Linked DNA regions of Homo sapiens: region 1 is linked to region 2. Evidence: promoter capture Hi-C in human tissues and cell types (Jung and others, 2019). All regions are on one chromosome and are shown on one strand. The core of a region is centred on a gene start or on the middle of the fragment in contact, and the rest is flanking DNA. Distances in the headings are between cores, read along the strand shown. Region 1 overlaps GCK (glucokinase). Region 2 holds the start of POLD2 (DNA polymerase delta 2, accessory subunit).

What was found. The method cuts DNA at HindIII sites, captures the fragments that hold promoters and counts their contacts. A contact is called where the count stands out against the background at its distance.
Region 1: a fragment that was not itself captured here is called in contact with the fragment with the promoter of POLD2 in region 2 in 1 of the 25 tissues and cell types used here (mesenchymal stem cells).

The regions. Positions count from the first base shown.
Region 1 is chr7:44,159,616-44,166,093 of GRCh38, reverse strand. The region is part of intron 1 of GCK (glucokinase); the gene reads left to right. Among named protein-coding and RNA genes, the nearest start is that of MYL7, 22 kb to the right of the region's middle. The HindIII fragment of the contact is 4,625 bases long and covers 1,111-5,735 here.
Region 2 is chr7:44,119,345-44,126,120 of GRCh38, reverse strand. POLD2 (DNA polymerase delta 2, accessory subunit) reads left to right here and starts at 2,573. Exons shown (of 11, transcript NM_006230.4): 1 at 2,573-2,610; 2 at 4,012-4,287. The coding sequence starts at 4,068. It also overlaps the pseudogene RNA5SP230. RefSeq lists enhancers at 1,908-1,967, 1,487-2,391 and a silencer at 2,178-2,887. The HindIII fragment of the contact is 6,473 bases long and covers 1,242-6,776 here.

The DNA.
Region 1 (6,478 bases), core at 2,174-4,673, 39 kb before region 2:
TTTTTCTTGGGTGTGGTACAAGAACTCGGGAACCAGTGCACAAGCCAGACTTGGTCTGGGCAGCACGGGTTAGTGGGCCATCTCCCACAGCAGGTAGCATGGCCAAGTGAGGCCTGGGCAGGGCATCACCAAGGTCCCTGGCTTGCAAAGTGACCAAGGAAAAAATCCTGTGTCACTTTCCTTTTCTCATATTTTTTAGTTATTTTCCTAATGATTGCCTTGAGGATGGCAATTAACATCTTACACTTATAAGAAGCTAGTTTGAATAATAGTTCCAATAGTACATGAACACTCTACTCCTATATATCTCCATCCTTCTTCCTTTATATTGTTATTCCCACAAATTATGTTTTTATACATTATATCCTCACTAACATAAACTTATTATTATTTTCTGCATTTGCCTTTTAAATCATACAGGAAAACAAGAATCACAAAGAAAAACTACATTAATATTTGCTGTTATATTTACCTATATAGTGACATTTAACAGTGTATTTTTATGTCTTCAGATGTCTTTGAATTACTACTTAGTGTCTTTTCATTTTAGCCTCAATGTTTCCCTTTAGCATTTCCTATAGGGCAGGCCTGCCGGTAATTAATTCCCTTTGGTTTTCTTTATCTGAAATGTCTAATTTCTTTTTTATTCTTGAAGAATAGTTTTGCTGGCTATAAGATTCTTAGTTAATAGTTTTTTTCCCAGCACTTCAATTATTATTAAAGTGTTATTATTATTATTATTATTATTTTGAGATGGAGTCTCCCTCTGTCACTCAGGCTGGAGTGCAGTGGCGCAATCTCTGCTCACTGCAACCTCCGCCTCCCAGGTTCAAGCAATTCTCCTGCCTCAGCCTCCCGAGTTAGCTGGGATTACAGGTGCCCGCCACCATGCCCAGCTAATTTTTGTATTTTTAGTAGAGACGGGGTTTCACCATGTTGGTCAGGCTGATCTTGAACTCCTGACCTCAAGTGATACACCCACCTTGGCCTCCCAAAGTGCTGGGATTAGAGGCATGAGCCACCATGCCTGGTCTAAAGTGTAATTATTATTACAGCTGCCATTTGGCCTCCTTGGTTTCTAATGAGAAATCATCTGTTAAACTTATTGCAAATCCTTGGTATGTATGCTATGTGTCATTTCTCTCTTGCTGCTTCCAAGATTCTCTCTCTGTCTTTGTCTTTTGACAATTTGACTATAATGTGTTTCAGTGTGAATTTCTTAGAGTTTATCCCACTTGGATTTCATTGAGCTTCTTGGATGTGTACGTTTGTCTTTCACCAAATCTGGGAAATTATTTCACCATTTCTCAAATATCTTTTTCTTCCCCTTTCCATCTCTCTTCTTCTGGAGCTCCCGTATACTTAGTTGGCATGACTGATGGTATCCTACTGGTCCCTCAGGTTCTGTTCATTTTTCTTCTTTCTTTTTTTCTGCTCTGCAGACTGGATAACTTCAATCGCCTTTTCTTCAAGTTCAATGATTATTTCTTCTGCCTGCTCAAATTGGCCATTTAACCCCTCCAGTGACTTTTTCATTTCAGTATTGTACTTTTCAGATCCAGAATTTCTATTTGGTTCCTCTTTAATAAATTCTTTTTATTGTCATTCCCCATCTGTTCATACATTGCTCTCCCAATTTCCTGTAGTTCTTTGTCCATGGTTTTCTTTAGTTAATTAAGCATATTTAAGACAGTTGACTTAATGTCTTTGACTAGTAATTCCAATGTCTAAAATTCCTTATGGATAGCTTCTTTTAAATTATTTTTGTCCTGTTAGAGAGTCATATCTTCCTCTTTATTTGCTTTGTAATACTTTGTTGAAAACTTAACATTTTGAGTAGTAAAATGTGGTAATTCTGAAGCCAGATTCTCCCCCTCCTTTGAGATTGGTTTTGTTGTTTGTTGAGGGCTGCAGTTGTCCATTTGTATAGTGACTTTTCCAAACGATTTTTGCAAAGTATGTATTCTCTCTTGTGTCTGGTCACTGACGTTTCTGTTCTGGTGCCTCTGCAGTCAGCCTATGACCTGGAAGAGCATTCCTTAAATGCATAGATTTTTTTAAAACCCAAGAAACAAAAAACCTAGCATGTATGTACCTTTTTAAAAATCTTCTGATAGATGCCACCTGGAAGGCTGCTGCTGCCTGAAGGGGCAGAAACAAAGGCAAGCTCTACTCTGAGCCCTCAGGGAACCACCAGATAAACAAAAGAAATTTGATTCTCCAAATTTCTGGAAGACAAGGTCCTTTCTGCCCACTCCTGCTCCAGCCAGCTGCTCTAGGAACACAATTACTGTCCACATGGCCACAGGAATGTTGAAGAATGCAGGATGGTAGCTGGTTTGCCCACACCACTCACTTATGAGCCATCAGCATGCCTCTCCCTTCATCGAGCACTCCCATGGTTGCTGTAAGTGTCCAATCAGGTTCCAGAATTCTGAAAGAGTTGACTCTTACAGGATTTTTTTCTTTTCTAACTTGCTGGTTGTTTAGATAGAGGAACCAATTCCTGAAGTTTCCTACGTTGCCAGCTTCATGAGGATCATTCCCTAGTAACTCTTTTCAGACAAAAAGCTTCATTGATTTACTGTAGGACTAGCATCAAAGAGTCTATGCCACCTAGTCTGTCTCCTTAAAACACAGAAATAATCAGTATGCATTGGGGTAGGAGTTTGGCATTAGATCTGCCGTAAATCAAGAGCTGGGGACAGCCCATGTCTTAAACTCTGACCCAAGGGCTAAAATATCCTTTGGTAGCAACAACAGCTACAAACTATTGAACAACTTGTATGTGCCAAGAGCCTTACCTGCATTATCCCATTGAATCCTCTCAACAGCCCTGTGAGGTAGTAGAATTGTTGCCTGCCCCTTACTGAGGCCTAGAAACATTAAGGAATTTGCCCGAGGCCCTAGAGCCAGTGAGTGGCAAAGCCAGTCTCCAGACTCAGGCTGGAGATCCTACAGTTCTGTGTTACCCCAGTGTTATCCTGCCTCTCAGCACAGAGTCTTGGATGATTCTCCTAACCCCTCCCTAGGCAATGCACAGGGCTGCTCCCTGCACCCTTACTCATGCTCTGCTCTTCAACCCCAACAGTGCTGGCCTTAGGCTTTATCCCTGACACCCAGCCCCAGGCTCCATTCCATCTGTTGACAGAGGCAAACACTGGGGCAAAACTGACCTCTGTGGATACCACTGTGTCCACCTCCACCAGCTTCAGCTGAAGCCTCTGAACATCTCCAGCATGGAAGAAGCCCCAAAGGATATTTCCTGTCCCCCAGCATATGCTTGACCCTGAAGCCCTCCCCATCTAGTCAAGAAGACCAAACTGTTAACAATCCTGGAGTCAGAGTGACCCATGGGTGAATCTTAGCCAAGTCACTCATAGCTGTTGCATCCTAGTAAATCCCTTAACTCCCATAGGCTTCAGTTTCCCTGCATATAAAATGACAGCCTTCAGCTCATCGGCCAGTTTCAATCCATCTAAAGGGTCTAGCACATCCCCTGGCATGTGGAAGCCACAGGGCACACACTAGTTGTGGTCATTTGATCCTGGCATGCTCTGCTGTCTCTCGGCTCTCCCCTTGCCTCTTTCCCTGATGTCCTGGCCATCAGCCACTGCCTAACACCCTCCCACTCACCAGGCCCTTAGCCTGCCCCTTAGCACAAGAGCACAGCCGGTCTCAAGTCTACCCTGCTGTAAGCAAACACTTGCAACATCATGCTGACCTCCAGGCCCTGTTGCATCAGCGTGCCCACACTTGGTGCCCAGCTGGTACTGAGGGTATCAGGGAACAGGCCAGTGGTGGAAGGGCGGACACTTTGGGTTCCCTGGTTTCCTGGCTCCCAATATCTTTCCCAATGGCATATGGGGTCTAGCAGCTTGGCTCATTTAACTGTGAACCTCTACCCTTTAGAATCTGGGCCTCCAGGCTTGCTTCTGTGCAAAATGGCAGATAAGGCTCAACCTTTCTTTTTTTAACTTCATTGTTAAATATTACTCCATTAATACCCATTTACTGCAGAAAAGGTAGGAAATACAGATAAGCAAAAAGGAAAATAAATTAAAATCCTCATACCACCATCATCAAGATAATTACTGTCACCATTTTGGTATATTTCCTCCCAATACATATATTATCTATATCGTATATACGACAAAAATGGATCATACTATGTTTCCTGTTCTTCCCCTGTGTTAGTCATCTATTGCTGTATAACAAACTGCCTCAAAACTTAGTGGCTTCACCTTTCCGTGTATTATGATGACAAGAATGTGGTATGACACTGTCTTATATCTGGATCATATGCTAAAAGATAGAAAATGGTTTCTAAACTTATTTGTTCTGTAATAACAAAATTTTATTTCATAAAGTGTTTTTAAAAAAAACCATAGTAGCTTGAAACAACAAACCTTTGTTATCTCACACAGTTTCTGTAGGTCAAGAATTCAGAAGCAGCTTAGCTGGGTGGTCTGGCTTGGTGTCTCTCCTGAGGTCAGGGTTTTGGCTGGGGCTGCATCACCTGAAGGCTTGACTGGGGCCAGAGGAGCTGCTTCCAAAGTGGTCCACTCACATGGCTGGCAAGTTGGAGTTGCGTATTGGCAAGAGACTTCGCTTCTTCTCAATGGATCTTCCCAGAGTTCTTGTAGGCAACCTCATAGCATAGCAGTTGGCTTCCCCCAGAGGGAACAGTCCAGGAGAGAACAAGGCAGAAACCACAGGGTCTTTTCTGGCTTAGGCTCCAAAGTCATACTCCACCATTTCTGCATTATCATATTAGTTACACAGGCTAGACCTATTCTGCATGGAAGAGACTATACCATGGGGTGAATACCAGAAGCAGGGCTAATTGAAGGCCAGCTTCAAGGGCGGCTACACATTCCCTTTCAACAGTATGTCATGAACATCTTTCCATGCCAATAGAGCAGATGAATCTTACCATTTTTAATGACTACATGTAAGTGTAGCATAATTTATTTAACCAACCTCCTGTAGTTGGGTATGTGGGTTGTGTCTCGTTTTTTGATAGTAGAATTAATCATCTTGAATATCCATCACCAAACTTGTCATATTATTTTCTTTTGATGAATGAAAAAGAAAATCAAGTCATGTCTGTCAATCAGAACCCTGAGCAACTAAGAAATGGGGGTACCACTGGGACATAGAGCAAGGTCCCTTCTGATTCTGCTCTTGTCTTTCTCTCCCCATGAAATGGGGAGTTCACTATCTACTGAGACATCCTAGCCCACAGCTGCACAGTTCTGTCTTTTTAGAAAGCTCTAAGCAGAAACAATGTTCATCCATCCTCCTCGGGACAGCCCTTGAGCTACTGAAGACTCTAAGCATGTCCTGGTCATCCTCCATGAGCCATCATCTCTGAGGCCCTCCCCTTCTTGGCCCCTCTTCTCTGGACAGGTTCTGGACAGTCTTGCCCTTCCAAAATTCCTGGAAAGCAGGAACTGTTCCTGCTACAATGACTCTCAACTCCAGTGCAGTACAGACTGTTGGTGTCACCCCTTATCCTGAAGAAGAGGCACTGAGACAGGACAAGGGTGGGTGCCCAGGAGGGCTGGCATGAGTCATGAGAATCTGGTCCCGGAGAATTAGACGGTGTGGGGAAGTAGGGGTGTTGGGCCGCTTTCTGGCCTCATGGATGCCAATGAATATCAGCAGGTGGCTCCCAGAAAGGAACTCTAGGGGATGCCTGTTGCTCTAAATAGAGGCTAGAGAGGGCACTGGCAGTTCAGTCAACCAAGAAAGGGGGCCCACTTGCCTCAGCTTCAGGCTTTGTACACATCCTCAGCCTTTCTTGAGAACTGAATTTAGATTCTCCTCCCCTGTGCTGTGTGCTTGGCCCAGAAGAAGGGCAAGTCTCGCTGGGTGGCTGCTTCTTGGCCTGGCTGAACCAGAAGGCCCCAGTGCCACTCCAAACCTGGGTGTGAGCCCTGCCCCCATGAGCAAACAGTAGCTCAGAGCTGGGGGCTGTGGGGGTCAGTGGCCTGTCACATGAGATCTGATGAGGCCATCTCTGCTCTATATTGGGAAAGGGATCAATTGTATCAAGGGCTTTCTTGGGAGTGATCACTCTGGCCATTGGCGAGAGACCTGGCATTCTGACAAGGCACCCTCCATACCCTGACCCACTTGCCAGCTCCAGCTAATTTTAGCAGGCTTTGGCAGGTGCCAGCAAGTACATAGCATGTGGATGTCACTCCCAGGTGAGCCCAAGGAGAGGCCTGGGCCAGAGCCTGGAAGTCATGGTCTATGCCCATGGAGGCACCCAAAGCAAGCCTGAGGCCTGGACTTTGCAGTCACAAAATTAAGAATGATACCCCTGTTTTTTGTTTGTTTTTGATCAGTTGGCCACCTTCCTCCACCACCCCTTCCCCAAGTTCCATACAGACCCCTGGATTGTATGAAATGCAAATCGAACCTCTCTGCAGATGAAAATCCACTGGGGATCCCCTTGCCTCCAAGAGCA
Region 2 (6,776 bases), core at 1,324-3,823:
CTGAGGAGTTGGAGACCAGCCTGGCTAATATGGTGGAACCCCATCTCTACGAAAAATACAAAAATTAGCCAGGTGTGGTGGCACATGCCTGTAATCCCAGCTACTTGGGAGGCTGAGGCAAGAGAATCACCTGAACCCAGGAGGCGGAGGTTGCAGTGAGCCGAGATTGTGCCACCGCACTCCAGCCTGGGTGACAGAGTGATACCCTGTCTCAAAAAAAAAAGCCGAATAAACGAATAAAGATCTCATCTATGGCCGTACCACCCTGAATGTGTCCAATCTCAGAAGCTAAGCAGAGTTGGGCCTGGTTAGTACTTGGAGGGGAGAAATAACGGTCTATGCTAAAGGAAAATTCAGGTGCAATTAAAGTAAAATTAATTATATAAAAGAGAATACATTAAAAGCTAGTATTATTGTAACTTTGGTTTGTAATTCCACCAAGTGGAATTTGTTCCTGAAATGCTAGAATGGTTCAACATAAAAATCAATAAATGTAATAGACCACATTAACAGAAAAAAAACCCACACGGTCATCTCAATTGATGTCAAAAAAGTATTTGACAAAATTCAACACTCTTTTGAAAGAAGAAAAAGCTCAACAAACTAAGAATAGGAGGAAACTACCTCAAATAATAAAATCCATAGGCCAAATCCCCAAACTCACAGCTAGCAACATATTTAATGCTAAAGACTGAAAGCTTCCCCTTTAAGATCCGGAATAAGACAAAGATGCCCACTTTCACCACTTCTACTCAACATAGTATGGGAAGTTCTAGCCAGAGTAATCAGGTAAGAAAAAAGAAATAAAAAGCATCTGAATTGGAAAGGAAAAAGTAAAATTATTTGTTTGCCCAATACATGTACAATGTTTCAGGTGAAGGCTCAGAACAGTACAACCTTACCAGCAAGAGTCCTGCTGTCTCTGTGTGAATCCCAGCTATTACTCACTAGCTACATGATCTCTCTTGCCCTCCCTGCCTCAATTTCCTCATGTGTAAAGTGGGAGAAAAATAATAGTTCATGCTTCAAAGGTTTTTTGTTTGTTTGCTTGCTTTGAGACAGCGTCTGGCTCTGTCGCTCAGGCTGAAGTGCAGTGGTGCAATCTTAGGTCACTGCAACCTCAGCCTCCTGGGCTTAAGCGATCCTCCCACCTCGGCCTCCCAAAGTGTTGGGATACAGGCGTGAACCACTGTGTCTGACCCAAAGGATTATTTGAGGAGCAGATGAATTAATGTGTCATAACCTCAAAGCAGTTGCAAAGGCGTTTAATAATTAAAATATCACATTTTAAATTAAAATATAAGGCTGGGCGTGGTGGCTCATGCCTGTAATCCCAGCACTTTGGGAGGCTGAGGTGGGAGGATCACTTGAGCCCAGGAGTTCCACACTAGCCTGGGCACCATTGGGAGACCCTGTCTCTACACACACACGCACACACACACACACACACACAAACTTAAAGTAGCCAGGCGTGGTGCTGCGCGCCTGTTGTCCCAGCTACTCGGGAGGCTGAGGCGGGAGAATCACTGGAGCCTGGGAGTTCGAGGCTGCAGTGAGCCGAGATCGCACCACTGCACTCCAGCCTGGGCCACAGAGCAAGACGCTGCCTCAAACAAACAAACAAAAACAAAAATTAAAATATTAAGTAATAATTAACGAGTGTTAATATCCACTCGTTGTGGAGACAAGACCTGGACTTAGGAAACAGGCCCAGGGAAGTAGCAGAACAGTAGCGCTAGAGGACGCCTGGGAGAATCAGCGCGCGGCGGGAAGAGCCCGGGAAGCTTAGTGGGGAAGCGTCTCTTGATGGGGTGAGGAATTCTATAAATTAGTGGAGATGGAAAAAAAAAAAAAAAAGTATTCCCAAAGTGGGAGACAGCACTCAGAAAGACGTGGTGGTAAGAACGAGTATGAGTAACGGGGACAACGAGGACACTGGAGATTGGGGAGTGTTGGGCTGGAAGCTGGTGTGCAGCTGTGGGCAAGCTAGGGAGGACCCCGAAACCGCCAATGCGTTTCCCGGACGCAGACGCTGGCAGGACGGGAGGAACCCCGAGACCCCGCGCCATCCCTTCAGGAAGAGTTACTTCTCCCCGGCCAAGTTAGTGGGCCTTGGGCCTTCTTTCTGTTGGGATCCTCCTCGCGTGTCGCCATCGCTACAAGTGGGCAGCTCTGCGGGGAAAGCTGGGACGCTGGGGGCTTCACCAAGGAGGCTGGCGGCCGACCACTGGGAGGTCTGGCGGGGTGACGACCACTGGGAGGTTTGGGCAGGGCCTGACGGGGTGACGCGGTCAGCCCACTGGAGGCCGACACCCCCCGTCAGCCCAACCCCTGCACGCGCGGCCGCCAACCAAAGACCCGCGGCGCCGGCCTGCGAGCCCCCGCCCCGCGTTGCCCAGGAAACCGAGGGTGTGGCTCCGCGTTCTCTGGGCGTCCCAGGGACTGGGCGCACAGTGGTCGGCGGGATGAGGCGCCTGGTGACGGACGGGGCGAGGAGGGCAGCGATTGGTGAGATTAGGCGATGGGCGGGGAAGCCGCGCGGGGATTAGCGAGTTGCGGCGATGGGCGGGGCAGGCGCGCGGGGATTGGCGGGATGCGGCGCGCCGCGCGGTGAGTGGGGTCCAGGGAAACGGGGTCAGCTGGGGGTGGCAGTTCCAGGCCGCGAGGCCGGGCTCCTGGGTCGGTGGGCTGGTGTCTTGGCGGACGTCCCGCAGCTGCCGCGTGGATCCGAGCCGGGGCACCCGCCGTGACTGGGACAGCCCCCAGGGCGCTCTCGGCCCCATCCCGAGTAGCGCGGCCTGGCTGCTGCCGCCATCAAGCACGTTCGAGCCAAAAGCTCCTAACGAGTCACTCGTTAGACACGTGTGCGGAGCCTGTGTCCCAGGCCAGTGCTGTCCCGTGGAGATAGATTGCAAGCCGCTAGGGAATTTTTTAACTTTCTAGTAGGTGTACGAAAAAAGTAAAACGAAACAAATCAATTGGAGTAAATCCATAAATATATTCAAACTATTATTTCAATTGTATGTGAAAAAATTATTGGGATATTCTTTGTACTATTCTTAGAAATCCATTGTGTGTCCAACCCAAACATCACAGTTGGACTCACCACATCTCCTGTACTTCGTAGCCCTAGGTGGCTAGTGGCATAAGACACAAAAATCTCAGCTCTCCTGGAGCTTATGGTCTAGTTGGAGCAGGCAGACAATACATTTAAAATATACAGTTTGTTAGAAGGTAAATGTTGTAAACAACAATAACAGTTGAAGTACTGGGGAGAGTTGCAGTTGTAAATCAGATGGGCAGGGCACAAGGTAACATTTGAGTAAAGATGTAAGAACTTGAAGGAGATGGGCAAGTGAGCTCTATAAGTATACGGGAGAGGGGCAAGCAAGAGTTCAGAGGCCCCTTGCTGTGGGGAGGGATCCAAGGTGGAGGAGTGGGAACCAGGAGGGGAGAGGACCAGTGGAGCAGATCTCATAGGCAGTTGTAAGGACTTGGGGCCTTATTCAATGAAATGAGGACACTTTGGAGAGTTTTGAACAGAGCAGTGACTGATTTATGTTTTGGTTTTGGTTTAGTTCTATTATTATTTAATAATAGGCTTATTATTTCACAGAAGTTTTATTTAATAAGGCAGACCTCTTGTCTGGAAATGAGACAGGTGCCGGAGAGCTGGATGGAGGCAGATCGGGAATTCCATTTGGGGCAAACTGAACTTGATTGAGACCCTGGTAGTTGTCCAGATGGAACAGGACACCTGAGTCTAGGGTTCGGGAAGAACTCCAGATGGGACAAACACTCCTAGCTTTCCTTTTCTCTTTTTGGATGACCGCTACAGGGTGAGACATCGGTATCCAGGCACGATAAATTTCCAAGTGGACACAATGTCTGGTGTCAACTACAGCTGTTCTCCTTCTTTTCCCAGTATCCTTTGGGTGCAGTGAGACACCAGGAGAGCTGCTGCTTTGGGGGATGGACAGGGGCAGCAGGAATGCCTTTGTGTTTTCGCAGTGAACCTCCTTGGCCTGGGCGAAGCTGTGTGGACCAAGCAAGTCAGGAGTGTGGCCATGTTTTCTGAGCAGGCTGCCCAGAGGGCCCACACTCTACTGTCCCCACCATCAGCCAACAATGCCACCTTTGCCCGGGTGCCAGTGGCAACCTACACCAACTCCTCACAACCCTTCCGGCTAGGAGAGCGCAGCTTTAGCCGGCAGTATGCCCACATTTATGCCACCCGCCTCATCCAAATGAGACCCTTCCTGGAGAACCGGGCCCAGCAGCACTGGGGTAAGTGAGAGTTTGGGAAGGTGCTTCCCCCACAGCATCCCTGAACTTAGAAGTGTTCTGCAAGAGAATGGGAACAGTTTATCTAATTGATCCCACTTCCTGTTACCTTGGGAAAATTAACCTCTTTTTCCCTCAGTTTCTTCTTAAGATAGTAACAAGGATTAAATTAAGTAATTTGTGGGTTTGGAGTTAGTTTTAGTTCAGAGGCTGGTTGGAGATGAGGACTTAGTTCTGGCGGTGATGGCGATTACTTCACTGGCAGAGGAAAATGGTTTTCCTATCTTCAGTGCAGATTATTCAGGTATTTGCCTGTGCTGTAGCCAGAGAGCCCCTCAGTGTGGCAAGCCTGGCGCCAGGCACCAGGAGCCAAGACTGGTGAGGATGCACTCTCTGGTCTCGAGGGGACCCCCTCTGTTCACTCATGTCTGTTTGCCTCTCCTCCTGGCCCCCATATTTGCTGGCCATGAATTTTCCTGTCCCTTGGGCCCTCTGTCTTTCCTAATAAAGTGGCCTGCCCAACACAACCCTTGTTCTTTGCCCCCATTTCTTCCCTGGTGATCTCTCCTGCAGTTGGATTACTCTTGGTGGTGAAGCAGGGACCCCCATCTCCCCCTTTGAGTTTATTTGAGTTTTAGGTGCTGCTGCATTCCCCCATTCCTACCACTTACATAAGAGTGGCTTTCCAGGTAATTTTCAAATCCATCTCCTATTATATTTTTAAACTGAGGATTTAGTAGGTGAGACCAGGTCTTACTCATTTTTACTGTCCTTGGCACCAGGCAAAATGGATCTCAGCCCTAGTTGCACATTGGAATCCCCTGGGGAGCTTTGAGAAGCCCATCTCATCCCATGCCAAGCCAAGATCAATTCTCGTTATAGGCAGGCAGGAGAACCCTGGGCCTAGAAATCTAGCTAGAACCTCAAATTCATTAGGGATATGTATTAGTCCATTTTCACATTGCTATAAAAAACTACCTGAGATAGGGTAATTTATAAAGAAAAGAGGTTTAATTGACTCACAGTTCCTCATGGCTGGGGAGGCCTCAGGAAACTTAACAATCATGGCAGAAGGTGAAGGGAAAGCAAGGCTCTTTTACATGATAGCAGGAGAGAGAGAGCAAGGGGAACTGCCAACCATTTTTAAACCATCAGATCGCATGATGGCTTGATCTCACTCACCATCACAAGAACAGCATGGGGGAAATCCACCCCCACAATCCAGTCACCTCCCACCAGGTCCCTCCGTCAACACCGTGTGGATTATAATTCCAGATGAGATGTGGGTGGGGACACAGAGCCAAATCATATCAGGATGTTTTCTGTTTTGTTTACCTGAGACAAAGTGCTGTTCACCTCTCCTCTCCCACATAATCAGGGGCTCCCTCCTGCGGCTCCGGTAGCTTTTCCTCACTTTCCTTTCAGCCCTCGGGACACCTTCCTTGGCTCCTTTCAGAGCTCAGTTACTACTTGGGCCCAATGTCAATGCCACCTTCTAGATTCTTTCCGGCAGCACCTCCTCTGGTCGCACATTTCTCTTCCAGTTATTGGAGCTGTCAAAAAAGCTCCCCAGTGATGGACGATAGCGATTTCACTGTGCTCACAGACTGGTCAGGAAACCAAACAGCTGCCACAGTGAATGTGTTGATAGCAGCGGGGCAGCAGTAGCACTCGCTCACAGGCCTGGTGGTTGGTGCTGGCCCCCACCCTGAATACCTACATGTGGCTTCTCCATGTGGCCTGTGCATCCTCACTGAAGCTCAGCCTGTCTCTCCAAATTGGTCTTTCCACTCACCTGTTCCCCAAACCTGCCCAGACCTTCCTGCTGTAGGCTTTTCCCTTCACTTGGCACACTCTTTCCCTTGTCTTCCCATGGCCCCATCTAAGCCCCACTGTCAGCTGAAGTGTTATATTCTTTGAGGGGCCACCTGAAGCCACCTTGCAATGAGGGCCTCCGTTTTCTACCTCAGCTCACCATTTGTTCACAGCACTTGTCACTGTGGCGAGTTACTTGTCTATGGCCTGTTGTCGTTCTCCTGCCTAGACCCAGTGGGCTGAGTGGGGGCAAGTGTTGGCTTTTATGTCCAGTTTTGATCTTGGTGCCAGCACATTGCCTGGGTGGAAGCATGTCCTACTATCGGTTACAGGGATGTCATTCTGCCCAGTGCTCAGGGGCATACACTTGGATCCCAGTTGTGTGCCCTTGGACACATTGCTTAACCTCTCTGTGCATCAGTTGGGTGATAATATCTACTCCTGGCACATTTTCAGCGTTGGCTGAGTTACATGTACAGTGCTTAGGCCACCTGGGGGAGAGTAAGAGTGGGATACGTGAGGATGTGGAGTCTGTTGCATTTCTGTCTGCTGCTGGCATCCTTCTTGTCTTGTTTTGAGTTGCTCGCCTCTGTCTGCTCCCTAGGGCGTAGATTTGAGGAATATTCCTGGTTCTTCCCAGGCAGCAGGGGCTCAGGCTGTGCTGGAGTCAGCTAGGC